Linked DNA regions of Homo sapiens: regions 2, 3 and 4 are each linked to region 1. The links are contacts of gene promoters, found by promoter capture Hi-C in blood cells and fetal thymus (Javierre and others, 2016). All regions are on one chromosome and are shown on one strand. The core of a region is centred on a gene start or on the middle of the fragment in contact, and the rest is flanking DNA. Distances in the headings are between cores, read along the strand shown.

Evidence for each region. Contacts are between HindIII fragments. The CHiCAGO score rates a contact against its expected background, and 5 or more counts as called.
Region 2: a contact is called between a fragment that was not itself captured here and the fragment with the promoter of SCGN in region 1, in 1 of 17 cell types (naive CD4 T cells). The highest score is 5.1, in naive CD4 T cells.
Region 3: a contact is called between a fragment that was not itself captured here and the fragment with the promoter of SCGN in region 1, in 5 of 17 cell types (erythroblasts, M2 macrophages, megakaryocytes and 2 more). The highest score is 7.3, in erythroblasts.
Region 4: a contact is called between a fragment that was not itself captured here and the fragment with the promoter of SCGN in region 1, in 9 of 17 cell types (megakaryocytes, naive B cells, M0 macrophages and 6 more). The highest score is 9.5, in megakaryocytes.

Annotation. Positions count from the first base shown.
Region 1 is chr6:25,650,543-25,653,795 of GRCh38, forward strand. It overlaps SCGN (secretagogin, EF-hand calcium binding protein), which reads left to right and starts at 1,673. Exons shown (of 11, transcript NM_006998.4): 1 at 1,673-1,943; 2 at 2,840-2,910. The coding sequence starts at 1,862. The HindIII fragment of the contact is 2,826 bases long and covers 1-2,527 here.
Region 2 is chr6:25,186,449-25,189,701 of GRCh38, forward strand. No RefSeq gene overlaps it. Among named protein-coding and RNA genes, the nearest start is that of CARMIL1, 91 kb to the right of the region's middle. The HindIII fragment of the contact is 1,483 bases long and covers 796-2,278 here.
Region 3 is chr6:25,222,610-25,225,862 of GRCh38, forward strand. No RefSeq gene overlaps it. Among named protein-coding and RNA genes, the nearest start is that of CARMIL1, 55 kb to the right of the region's middle. The HindIII fragment of the contact is 1,739 bases long and covers 856-2,594 here.
Region 4 is chr6:25,238,814-25,242,066 of GRCh38, forward strand. No RefSeq gene overlaps it. Among named protein-coding and RNA genes, the nearest start is that of CARMIL1, 39 kb to the right of the region's middle. The HindIII fragment of the contact is 2,247 bases long and covers 610-2,856 here.

The DNA.
Region 1 (3,253 bases), core at 423-2,922:
CAGCACTTGCTTAATCGGTGATAATACTGCTTTTCTTCCTTTAGGCTAAGCCACACTCCTCAAAAATCCTGAAGTTTACTTCACCGTCTTCCAAATATGTATGTATGTATGGAAGATTCATCATTTTAGTAGCTAACTTACACTGAATGTTACTGTATATACTGTGACAATAGGTTTATATGATTTTTTAATTTGACCTTTATGATAATAACACGGGGTAAATACTACTATTATTCCCATTTTACAAAGAAAGTGAGGCTTCTTTTGAGTAACTTGCCCAATATCACACACAACTAGTAAGAGGCAAAGCTGGGCCCTGAACCCAGAACTGTTTTCTTCTGAACCATTTTTTTCATTATTATTAACTAAAGTCCGTGTTTATTAAAATTTTCTTAATTTTTACCTAATGGCCTTTTTCTGTTCCGGCATCACACCCAGGATAAAACATTACATTTCTTTGTCATTTTTCATTAGGTTCCTCTTGGCTATGACAATCTCTTAGACTTTACTTGTTTTCTCTAACAGAGTCATCCCTCATCAGCTACAACACCATAGCAGATATAATTCATTGTGCATTACTATGTATGGTTCTGATCCTCACAGCAACCCTCCAAAACAGATGTTTTAATCCTCATTTTATAGATAAGAAAATTGAGGCTTAGGGAGATGAGAACTAATGGTGCAGTTCACAAAGCTGGTAAATAATGGAACTCAGATCCTGACCCAGGACTATCTGACCTTGAGTGTCATGTTCTTTTCACTACTCTGGTTTAGATGACTTATACATGCATGCTTTTTATAAATAAATCTGAATGCTAAAACCAGAGTCAGGGTGCCATAAAGAAAAGTTACATCTGGTTCAACTTTCTTATCTAATATCCAAGCACTTTCTATAGATTATCCAACGAAAATTTCTAAATATATAGTCAAAAGGTATCAGTGTAGTTTGTACACGTTTCCACAAAGCCTTGCCCAATTTTGAACAGTCCTGATTGTTAGAAAGCTCTGTGTTCCTCCAACTGATTTTTATCCTTTGGTCTTAATGTGGCTCTTAGGAGCCAAACACAATCATCTAAGCCTTCTACCTAAGTACCCTGCAGGCAGACACATCTCCCCCAGACTCTCTTTTCCTGGCAGAGTACGGCTTAGTTTATATTTTCCTCAGCATCCTAATGATGCTACTTTAAATCACAGTGACTTGCAGTATCCCTGTTTAGTTGCAAGTCCTTATAGTGCATTTTGGTACAGCAATGTGTATGTCCTATACAATCAGGACTCAATAATTGCTGTTGACTTCTTCCTTAAAGGGAACCACTTACCACCATCACCATCCCTTCTCGCCTCCCCTCTCCACACACTACATTTCTAAATCCTCAAGTCCAAAGGACCCTAACACTGACACTTCTTGCAACCCTTTAAATGAGGCAGCTCTCCCTAGAAAACCCCTTGAGACACAAGTTTGGAAAGTGAGTCAAACGTAAGAGGGATGTCTTCTCCGAGTCTGAGAAGCAAGTTAAAGGGCAAAAGCAGTGAGCCGTGGACGCCTGGAGACAGTTTCTTTCTTCCTGAATTCCCCAAAGCGCAGAGACAGACAGGATCTGCCAGGACAGCGCGCAGGGCGGGGCGGGGACAGGCGCGCCAGGAGCGGGGCGGGCTTCCAGCCGCTGGTTTTGCTGAGGGCTGAGGGACGGCTCAGCGACGCCACGGCCAGCAGCGCTCGCGTCCTCCCCAGCAACAGTTACTCAAAGCTAATCAGATAGCGAAAGAAGCAGGAGAGCAAGTCAAGAAATACGGTGAAGGAGTCCTTCCCAAAGTTGTCTAGGTCCTTCCGCGCCGGTGCCTGGTCTTCGTCGTCAACACCATGGACAGCTCCCGGGAACCGACTCTGGGGCGCTTGGACGCCGCTGGCTTCTGGCAGGTCTGGCAGCGCTTTGATGCGGATGGTGAGTAGAACAAGCCACTTGCACACTCAGGTGTAGACGTGGCTCCAAGCTCAGCCCGCTGAAAGGACCTGGAGTTTCCCCTTTACTGTAGGAAAAGTTATCGACCTGGGTTGTTAATGCAGTGTACCTAATACAGTATCATTAACAGACGTTTGGCATACTGGTGATACACATCTATATACCTTGTTAAAATTCTGGGTGGTGAATTTCCACTTTCCCCTTTCCAATCTCTCTTTGTGTGCGAGCGCGCCATATATATGGTAGACATACATATATATTGTATATACAATGACTAATATCATTGTATATGTTCAAGGCTTGTGGGCTGAGACTCAGCTATTTGAAGTCATCCTTCCCTAAATGGGCTCACTTTTACGCAGTGACTTTGCTGTACACCCCTCACTCTCTCAAAATGAGAATAAATTTTATCAGCTTTCAAAACGACTCCTCCACCAAAAAACTACTTGAAAATAAAATGGAACTACTTAATATTTGTTTTTATTAATAAAGAAATAAAATATCTAAAAGGTGTGTTTTAACTCTGCAAACTGGGATTCAATACTTACACCTGTTAAGTTTCTCCAAGCTTCAGAAATTTTGGGGTTAAATTTTATTGGAAAGTTCACGTTTATTCATTGATTAAAATTCATGTACTTAATAGCCTTCCTTTTCCAAGCACTAATATAAACCCTAGCATAAAGCACGTATTCTGGAACAGTGTTTACTGTTCAAACCCATGTATTCTAGAGGTAGGTGTTGGCACTTTGTTATTGGAATAACAAAAAATAGTGTTGAGGGAAGCTTTATGAATTGTGAGATTAAAAACATATTTAGATAAATACTGTCATGTGTTTTTTATATGTTAGTATTATTTATGTTTATTTTCTCACATTTAGAAAAAGGTTACATAGAAGAGAAGGAACTCGATGCTTTCTTTCTCCACATGTTGATGAAACTGGGTACTGATGTAAGTACTTGCACACTAAGCCTTAATTTATGCCTCTTAGTAAGATACGCACATCCAAGTCTTATATTGATTGGTACCTATTAATTCCAACTCACCTCCTTTCTTCCTTGCATGTATGTAATTTCTCCCCCTCTCCTAGCAACATAGAGGGATTTAGGCAGTTTTTATAAAAGGTGCAACTGTAGCATTAGACATGCTGGTTACTGACTTTCAGTGTAACATCTGTCATCCACTCAGAGATCCTAACTGTAGACTCAGTTAACTTGGTCTTGAACGTCTCCTTGGTTATGTCTCTGCTAATTGATTTATACCTGGGGGTAAAGTAGCCCACTTTGTTCAAAAA
Region 2 (3,253 bases), core at 287-2,786, 460 kb before region 1:
ATGTAAATTAAAACCAAAAGTGAGTAGGAAACAAAAGCATTAAGAATAACTCATGTATTTCCATTTCTGGCCAAAATGCAGTAAGAAAGACCAGATTTATCCTCCTCTCTGAAACAACAACAAAAAGACAAATACGTGAAACAGCGAGTCTTAGAACAAATTAGACAATGAAGAATGGTGATCTCCAAGAAACAGGAAATAAATGATGTGAGCCAATGATTGCCCCAGTATACTATTTGGAGGAAGTTTTTTCAGGTCACAGGGCAGGGAAGAGGCACCTTTGTGGAGGTATCCTGGAACTGAGGAGACAGCTGAGAGTCTGGAGAGTAAGGTGGCTAGAGTGCCTAGGGCAGAGCACCAAAGACATGAGAGCTGCCCTGGGAAAACTTGAAGACCTACAGAAGGTCCCCCTCAAACATTCAGCTAAGTGCTGATCAGTGCATGTGTGTGGGAGAATGCCCAAGGTCAGGGGAAGAACCACTAAATTAACGTGAGGAAACAATCATCAGAGCTCACATAGTGCTAGAAAGGGTGAAAACTTGTGAATCTGTCTTCTGGGAATGTCAGGCTCTGTGACAGTCACACAGAGGTCAGTCTCTGCATACCCAAGACTTAAAAACATCTGTGAAATTGAACCGCTAACTCAGCAAGTGTTTCAGCAGGTGAGTCAACTATGTACCAAGCACTTGGAGCCATTAATAACACCCTACCAACCTGACTCAAAGTGTTGCTCAGGAAAAGTCTCTCTTAAGTGGGAACACCTCCCATGCTCATCAAATGCCACCATCCCCCAAAAGCTTCCTCCACACCAGCCATCTTTCTGGGTACTCCTCCTAGCTTGCCACCCCTAAGCCCTGGGACTTTTCCTTCCTGCTCTTTCCCATCAATACTGCCCTGTCTCATTCCTTCAGGACCTGGCCCCTCTGCTACTCAAAGTGGCAGCAAGCCTTCTCATAGCCTAACCAGCGCAAATGAGTGAGAAGCTGAGAGTTAAAGTGATTTCACCCAGTCACTCTCCTTCTCAGTGCAATGCGTTATGTAGTAGCAGTAGGGGTTTTCAGGAAATGCATGATCTCAACACGGAATAGCTGCCGTGTGGACATTGCTGGTATGCTAGCAAACAGAGTGAGGAAGAGTTTGGAGCAAGCAGGCATGACCATGCCCCCTTAAATCCCATCAAAGACAAAGTGACATTTTTCTCCACACATAATCCACCCCTGGGAAGATGCAGGACAGAGTCACAGAGCATTTCACATGTGTTAGGGGAATGTCCTATGTGTTTGGGGAAAACAAAAGGAAGATAGGAAGGAGGAAAAAATAAAGGAGATTCAGTCAACAAGCACTAGTTGAATATCCTACACATGCCAGGTACTGCTCTAGGTTTTGGGGTTATAGCAGTGAACAAATGGTTTTGTTCCTTTTATACTACCATGGAAATTTCCACCTTGGAGGACACAGAACTTTGAATGTGTCTTTGTAAGAAGTTTCCCAGATAAGTTTGATTGTCAGGCAATTTGAGGAACCACTATTGAAGCAACAGTTGAGATTCTTCTCATTGATCCAAAAAGCAACCTACAATACTCATGGCTGTTGACTTTGGAAAACAGTTTTATTGAATATCAAGGTGCTATCTTTCTTCACACAGTCTACCAAAGGTTTGCTTTGATGTCCTCCTAATCCTTCTCCAAACACTGAGGCCCCTCCCAATCTACTCCATATACTTATGCTTTGTGTATCAGGTCCCACCTGCACCTCTTAGAAAGTACCCCAACTCCCAATTATTTATCAGTCTCTTCACCACATGCCCATCAATTATATTTAGCAATATAATACGTACTGAGGACTTTTGATAAGAGGTATGTTCCTTCTGATTTATACATATTTTCTCATGTCATCCTAAAACTTTATGTAGTGGGTATTATCCTGCAGAAGAGGAAAGTGAGACAGACAGATTATATAACAAGACCATTGTTACTGAGAATGAGGTCATTCTTTATGTATTAACATGACCTTCCATCTTTCTACTGTGCCTCCATCATACTGAATAATACCTTAAGTTTTGAAATTGAGAGGGAGAAGAGGGAGAGAGAGAGAAAAGGAGAGAGACCTAGAGGGAATTGGGGGAAGAGAGGGGGAGAGGCTCTTAAATACAACACCTCTTCCATTTACTTGATATATGAACTTCACCTCTTAAAGCCTCTTTTCCACATCTGCAACAGAGAAATAATGACTCCTACTCTATGTAGGTTGTGGGGTTTAAATGAGGTTATGGATATAAAGCTTCTAAGTACTGCACTTGCTACATGATAAGCTTAAGTATGTGATAATAACAGCCCTATATCCATATACTCTGTTTTTTCTTCAGTTTTTTTTTTTTAAACCAGTATCTGACATTATATTGTGTGCGTGGTAGGTGGGTGTATTATCTCTCTGTCCCACTGTATTTTTTTTTTTTTTGAGACAAAGTCTCACTCTTGTTGCCCAGGCTGGAGTGCAATGGCATGACTTCGACTCAACGCAGCCTCTGCCTCCCAGGTTCAAGTGATTCTCTTGCCTCAGTCTCCCAAGTAACCAGGATTACAGACGTACGCCAACACACCCAGCTAATTTTTGCATTTTTAATAGAGACGGGGTTTCACTATGTTGGCCCAGGCTGATCTTGAACTCCCAACCTCAGGTGATCCACCCGCCTCAGCCTCCCAAAGTACTGGGATTACAGGCATGAGCCACTGCACCGTGCTGTCCCATTGTATATCATAAGCTCCACATGAGAAGGAATTTTGCCACATTTACCTCTGTATCCACAGTGCTTACAATGATGGCTGGCTTCTAGTAGGCACACTTTAAGTATTTGTTGAAGGAATGGTTGTTATGACCATAATCTTCCCTACAGCACCTTACTACAAACATAGTAGTTGCCCTACGAATGCTTTCTATGTGGTTTGCAGTAAATAGAATGCAAAACCCTTATTATCATACTATATTGCCACCCATCTCAGCTAAACTGAATGAATAAATAACCTTCTGGCTGGGGTAACCTATTTGAAGATAGAGGTCACAAAAACAAAGAGGGCATTTAATAAATATTGATTATTCATTACATTGCCTGCTTTCTACCCTGGCCTCTAGGAAAAAAAAAGTTCAGTGAATGTCATTCCTTCTAAGATGTATATTTAAACCTTTAAGATCTCCCGTATTTTTATAAATTTCCTAAAATATTGTATTATTTTTACAAATGGAAACAAAATTTTAA
Region 3 (3,253 bases), core at 475-2,974, 430 kb before region 1:
GCACATCTCTAGTAGTGTTCAGGGAAATATTCTGGCTTAATGAAGTCCCAGGCTGTAAATAACATTTGTAGGAACAGTTGCAACTTTGAAGAACCGCTATAAGGGCTAAGGAAGGACACTCTACATTGCATTCAAGGGTCTCTGTGTCTCCCCTTAGTGGGCAAGGAAGCTGCCATTTTTCCTCCTCTAGAGCAAGTCTTATCTTCTCATCCTTCTAGTGAGGCCACTGGGCCTCTTATTCGAGATTCTTTCTTTTCTCTTTTTCTTCTCTGTCATCCCAATTAGCTTTCAGAGTGTCTATGATAAAAAAGAAAAAGACAATCTACAATTCAAAAAATTAAAAATTATACTAGAGTTTATGCCTGTAAGTGATCTTTTGATAATAAAACATGTAGGATTTTAAAATTTTGATACTCAATTTTTACAAAAACAAAACTGAAATGTACACCACTGTTTCACAGAGGATATCTTATAAGAGAATTAGAATGGCTGAATCTGAACTTGGCTTCCATAGCTTCTCACATCCAGAAATTCCAAATAAATAAAGTAACTCAAACAACGGCAGTCTGACAACTCCTATCAGACCTGGAGGACACAGGGACCCATCTTCCATGTGTTAAAGGGTGAGGAAGAAAGTAAAATAGGAAAACAAAAAAAGTATGCTTTATCCAAGGGCCTATGTCTTCCCCAAATGACTTTACATTCAGAATCTCTTTGCCTAACTCTCCCCAATTTGAGAGGTATTTTTCTTCAAAATCCTGATCCTGCTTTCATTCCATTCCCTGTTTAGTATAAATTCCTGGCTAAACACACTTGGTCTCAGAGAACCATGTCAAAGGTTACTAAGGTCAAAAAAGCTTTTCTTATTTTCTGACAGTCCCTGAGGTCCTGAGAGAATGCATTCTTCTTTTGTTTGGCTGGTAAATAGGAAGTTCTGCATTTTACTTTCCCCAACAAGGAAGCAAATATTTTCTTATTGTCTTATTCTGTGGCTGTATTAAAGAAAAAAATCAGCATTTCCAGAGCTCTATGCTAACAGGCCACTGGGTGGCAGTCCTGAGCTGTAATGCAGAAGAGAAGAGTCAGGAAAAACCTGTAAACCAGAGCGGGAGATATAATAATGTTCAGGAGATAACAACGTCATCAAAGATCAACTACTTTCCACCAATAGAGCCTAATTAAATGAAAGGAATCATACCAGGAAAAAATGGAGGTAGTATCATACGTTTAAATTAAAACTGCCCAAGACGCTTAGATAAAATTGGCAGAAAAGCATCCCTCCTTCCACTTTCATTATCACCAAGGTAACATGGTCCAGAGTGGAGCTGAATGTCAACCCAGTGCTAATGGGCAGGCTTCTTCCTACTCAATTTTCCCTTTTTCACCAGGACTTCAGAATAAAGCACTAGAACTCACACTGTCCTGCTCTGCAAGCTCCAACCCCAGATTAATCCTGAAATCCCCCTTCTCTGCTTCTATATCTTAGTGATTTGGGGCTTCTAGAGAGAAGTACAACCGTGGGAACTGGTATCTTCACAAAGGTATACTTTCCGATTTCAGAAGAATACTCCATTCATCTTGTCAATACTTCTCCTTATCTAAAAACAGCATCTCTCCCCTCATCCCTTCTCCTTCCCTCACTCCTCTCTATAGCGAGAATCTCATACCTTCAGTTCTGTCCATCCCCTGTCAGCAAGTGATCTTGCCCCCACAGAGACTACTGAGCCCACAAACCCTCAAATCTTCACTCTTCCATCCCACCCCCATACACATCCTGCCCCCATACAGGTTTATCTTCATTTTCACTCATTCTTGCTTCCTGTCCCACCAATCACAAGAAATAGAACAGCTGCCCTCCTCTCCCCTCCAGGTGTCTCCCAGCATTTCACCACATGCATCAATTTCTGTGTCTACATAAACTGTTTGCCCCGCCCCCACCCCCGAATGCTAATATGACAAGAGGACATATTAGAGGAGAATCGAATTCTCTTAGCAAATGGCATGAAAATTCCTTTTGGAGATTTCTTAGAAAAATTCATGGATAAGCCCATTGAGGTTGAAGGCGAGACCTTGACTCTGGGTTGATCACTCAGTTCTAGACAAGAAAAGTAATTCCTTGCTCTAAAGGAGGAGGAAGTTGGGAAAAACGGAGGAGGAGCCAGCAGGATGGCAGAGGGCAGTGTGGTTGGGCGTATAACCCCTCTCCAGGAGCACCTCCAAACTACCTTAAAGTTCCTTGTTAAATTGTTAACTCAATAGATTACCATTAACATGAGTGTTTGTGTAGAAACTGGCGAGAAGGCTGAGATTCGCACTGTGGTGCCACAAGATGGATCTGAAACCACAGGTACAGATGTGGCAGGGGACACAAAGAGAAGCATGAGGGAGCAAGCCTCAGAAATTTAGGGAAATCATAAAAGGAATCTTGGACTGTGGCTTTGGACCAGGTTTACAAAGATGGACCAACATCTCACAGAGCCAGGGAGGCCCCAGCTGACATTGGCTTGCTCTAGCTTCTCCCATCCTAAACAAAAGCCTCTCTACCCTGAGCCCTTTTTCACTTTCTCCTTCTGTCATCATCCAACTCTCTCAGAAGCTTGGTCTGTACTTGTGGCAGCTTCAGCACCTCCCAATAATTTCTCAAACTTCTGCTGACTGTTCTCACCAAGGTCATCAATGATGTCCTCATGAGGAACATTCTCAGTCCTTGTCTCACAGAACAGTTCTTCTTCATTAGGCACCACTGATAACTTTCATCTTATCTCTCCTTGGGTCTCTGACCTTTCCAGTTGCCTTCACCATGGGCTGCTCCTCTTCTTTCTGCTGCTTAAATGTCAGTGTTAGGGATTGAGGAGGTGCATTTCCAACCAGCATCTGAAAGACTTATGATGTTCACCAAACTAGGGTTAACAAGCCTGTGAGTTGAATTTGACTACAATTGAGTCAAACTGAATGGTGCAATCAGAGTGTGAATGAAGGAAAATAAAGAAACCAAGGGAGGAAACATTATAAATGGCAGGGAAGGGAGGCCAAGAATGTTCTTGAGAATATTAAGAATATTCTGAGAATAAAAGAAACAAGCTGGGTATGGTGGCTCACACCAGCAATCCTAGCACTTTAGGGAGCTGAGGCAGAAGAATTGCTTGAGCCCAGGAGTTCAAGACCAGCCTGGGCAAAATAGCGAAATCTTGTCTCCACTAAAAATACAAGAAATTAGCTAGGCATGGTGGTGTGCATCTGTGGTCCCAGCAAC
Region 4 (3,253 bases), core at 483-2,982, 410 kb before region 1:
TTTCAAAATATTTTTAGTAGAGATAGGATTTCACCACGTGCCTAGGCTGGTCTCAAACTCCTGGGCTCAAGCAATCCACCTGCCTCAGCCTCCCAAAGTGCTGGGATTACAGGCATGGGTCACCACGCTTGGTCAAAAATGTTTTAATAAACAACTGTATATAAATCTTTGCTTGCATCTATGATTATTTCTTCAGAATAAACGTTTAGTAGCAGAAATTGAGTTGCTAGAGCAAATAGTGTTGTGCAAAATTATGTTAACAGATCAATAGGATATGCAGAAGAGTAATATACTTTCCTAAAGTATGTGACAGTTGTTGATAAATATAATTAATTTGAATTGTCAGTGTTTTGGTTGAATTGTGTGCTTAACAATCTCTAGGAAAACTAAAGAACAAACTGTCTGCCAAAAGTCTCAGAGAAACAGGATTATTACTTTGATGCTGGTTCCAAGGGCCTCCCTTAGCTTTCCTGGTAATAAATTATTGTCTCATATCACACTGGCAGAGAAAACAGTAAAATATTTATTTTGGAATATCTGCTTTCTATCTGGCAGGGATTTGACATTTTAAAACCTTTTCAAAATATTTTAGAACCACAAAATACAGTAAGCTTTGAATTAAGAATTAATTAGGGTTTTCTTTATCCCTACTGTTTGATCAATTTTTCAAAAGCCAAAAAAAAAAAAGTGCTACACAGAATACAATTAACTGTTAGTTTTCAGTAATTTTAAAGTGTGCTGTTGCTTAGAAGGCAGACTGGATCAGATGACCTCTTGGGATCCTTTCGAGCTCAGTAATTCTAACTTTTATATTCAATGAGTTTTATCTTGCACTTATCACCCATTGCTCAACCTGGCCCTTTCCTCTTTACCACATATTTTCTTTATGTCTTAATTTTCCTTTTATACTCACAGAGGGTGTCTAACCCTTTATTGGTATAATTATGGAAATGTTTTTATGTGAACATTAATCTAACAATGAAGGAGACAAGAGCAGAATGCCAGGTTCAGTAATGCTTATGCAGTCATGAGCATGAAACACTCTTAGAACATTTTATTTTATTTATTTACTTTTTTAAGACAGGGTCTTACTCTTTTGCCCAAGCTGGAGTGTAGTAGCGCAATCTCGGCTCACTGCAAAACCCCCTCCCCGGCTCAAGGGATCCTCCCAAGTCAGCTTCCTGAGGAGCTGGGATTAGCATGTGTTACCACACCTGGCTAATTTTTGTATTTTTAGTAGAGCTGGGGTTTCATCATATTGGCCAGGCTGGTCTCAAACTCCTGACCTCAAGTGATCCATCCATCTCGGACTCCCAAAGTGCTAGGATTATAGGCATAAGCCACCATGCCTCTTAGAACATTTTAAAAAATTAAGTCTTGGCTTGAAATCTGATGTAGTGTGACTATACTTGAGAATAATAGGAAATTTCCCAAATGCTAAAGACTTAAAGTACAAGAGAAAGTCAGTGTTCTTTTTTCATACATAACTTTCTACAGGAAAGATAAAAGAAAAACTATCACAATATTATGTATTATTTATCCTCGCTAGTTTATCAAACAACAGTTTTGTAATTTAATGAAATTCCTGTTTTCTATATGAGTATATTGCTCTAACATATGCTGTATATGATTAATGTTTCATTTGTTTGGCTAGTTACTGCTCATTGCTCTGTGTGTGTGTGTGTGTGTGTGTGTGCGAGACAGAGAGAGACCATGTTAAACACAGTATTATTCACCTGTTGTTCGCCTGTTGGTTAACGCTCTGGTATCCATGTCCCACTTAACCTTTCCCAACAGTCTACACTTCTATTGGAAATTTATTGTTACTCTACCCCCAACTATCCCATTATTTCAGGGATAAAATGAATGACATGTACTGCGCCCAAGAAAGTCTTATTGCCCTCATTGCAGTGATTAGATCAGTCATGGGTCTGTGGTCTAAGTCAAGTGCGAATTTCAGGATTTTTGCTGACAATTCTGGAACACATGTTTCTTTCTTTCTGTGTAGTGTGGGATGTGGATGTGAAGGGAGAACTGCTATCCTCACTTTGCCACCATATAGTATGTTCACCTCAGAATGAATCGAACACATTTTCTCTGACTTTACAATACAAAAAAATGTTTTTGAAGAATTGCCAGGCACTGTGGCTCATGCCTCTAATCTCAACACTTTGGGAGACCAAGGCAGGGAGATTACTAAAGGCCAGGAGTTCAAGACCAGACTGGCCAACATGGCAAAATCCCATCTCTACTAAAAATACAAAAAAATTAGCCAGGCGTGTTGGTGTATGCCTGCAGTGCCAGTTACTTAGGAGGCTGAGGCATGAGAATTGCCTGAACCTGGGAGATGGAGGTTGTAGTGAGCCAAGATCATGCCACTGCACTCCAGCCTGGGTGACAGAGCAAGACCTTGTCTCAAAAGAAAAAAGAAAAAGCAAACAAAAAAGAAGAAATTGGGCAGGCCCAGTGGCTCACACCTGTAATCCCAGCACTTTGGGAGGCTGAGGCAGGCAAATCACCTGAGGTCAGAAGTTTGAGACAAGCCTAGTCAACATGGTAAAACCCTGTATCTACTAAAAATACAAAAATTAGTCGGGCGTGGTGGTGCACACCTGTAATCTCAGCTACTTGGGAGGCTGAGGCAGGAGAATCACTTGATCCCCGGAGGCAGAGGTTACAGTGAGCTGCGACTGCACCACTGCACACTAGCCTGGGTGACAAAGCAAGACTTGTCTAAAAAAATAAATAAATAAATAAATCCAACACACAAGAGGCAAAATTAAAGAGAAATTTAACCCTGATTGATCTGTACCTAAAAGAATAATTTCCCTCTATTGTATAAGGAAGTTTGAATTAAGCTTTTGGTTACTTGCAACTGAAAATAAAACTACTGCAGGATCTCAGACGTGGATATGGCCTTGGAAGCACAGAAGAAGACAAATGGTTCTGGCCTTCTCCAGAAACAATACCTTGTAAGAACTTCTTGGTTTAGGAAGAGACTAAGGAAAGTATAAGAAGAGGAGATCTTTTACTTTCATTCATTGTTACTGACTTTTTGCTTAGTTGTTCTGTTCATTATTGAGAAGTATGTTTAAGTTTCCAACAATGATTGTGGATTTGTCTATTTCTGTCTTTAGTTCTGTCAGATGTTTGCTTCACACATTTTGAAGCTCTGTTAATTAGGCACATATACGTTTATAATTGCTCCATTTTACTGATGTATTTGACTTTTTTATTAGTATGAAGTATTTGT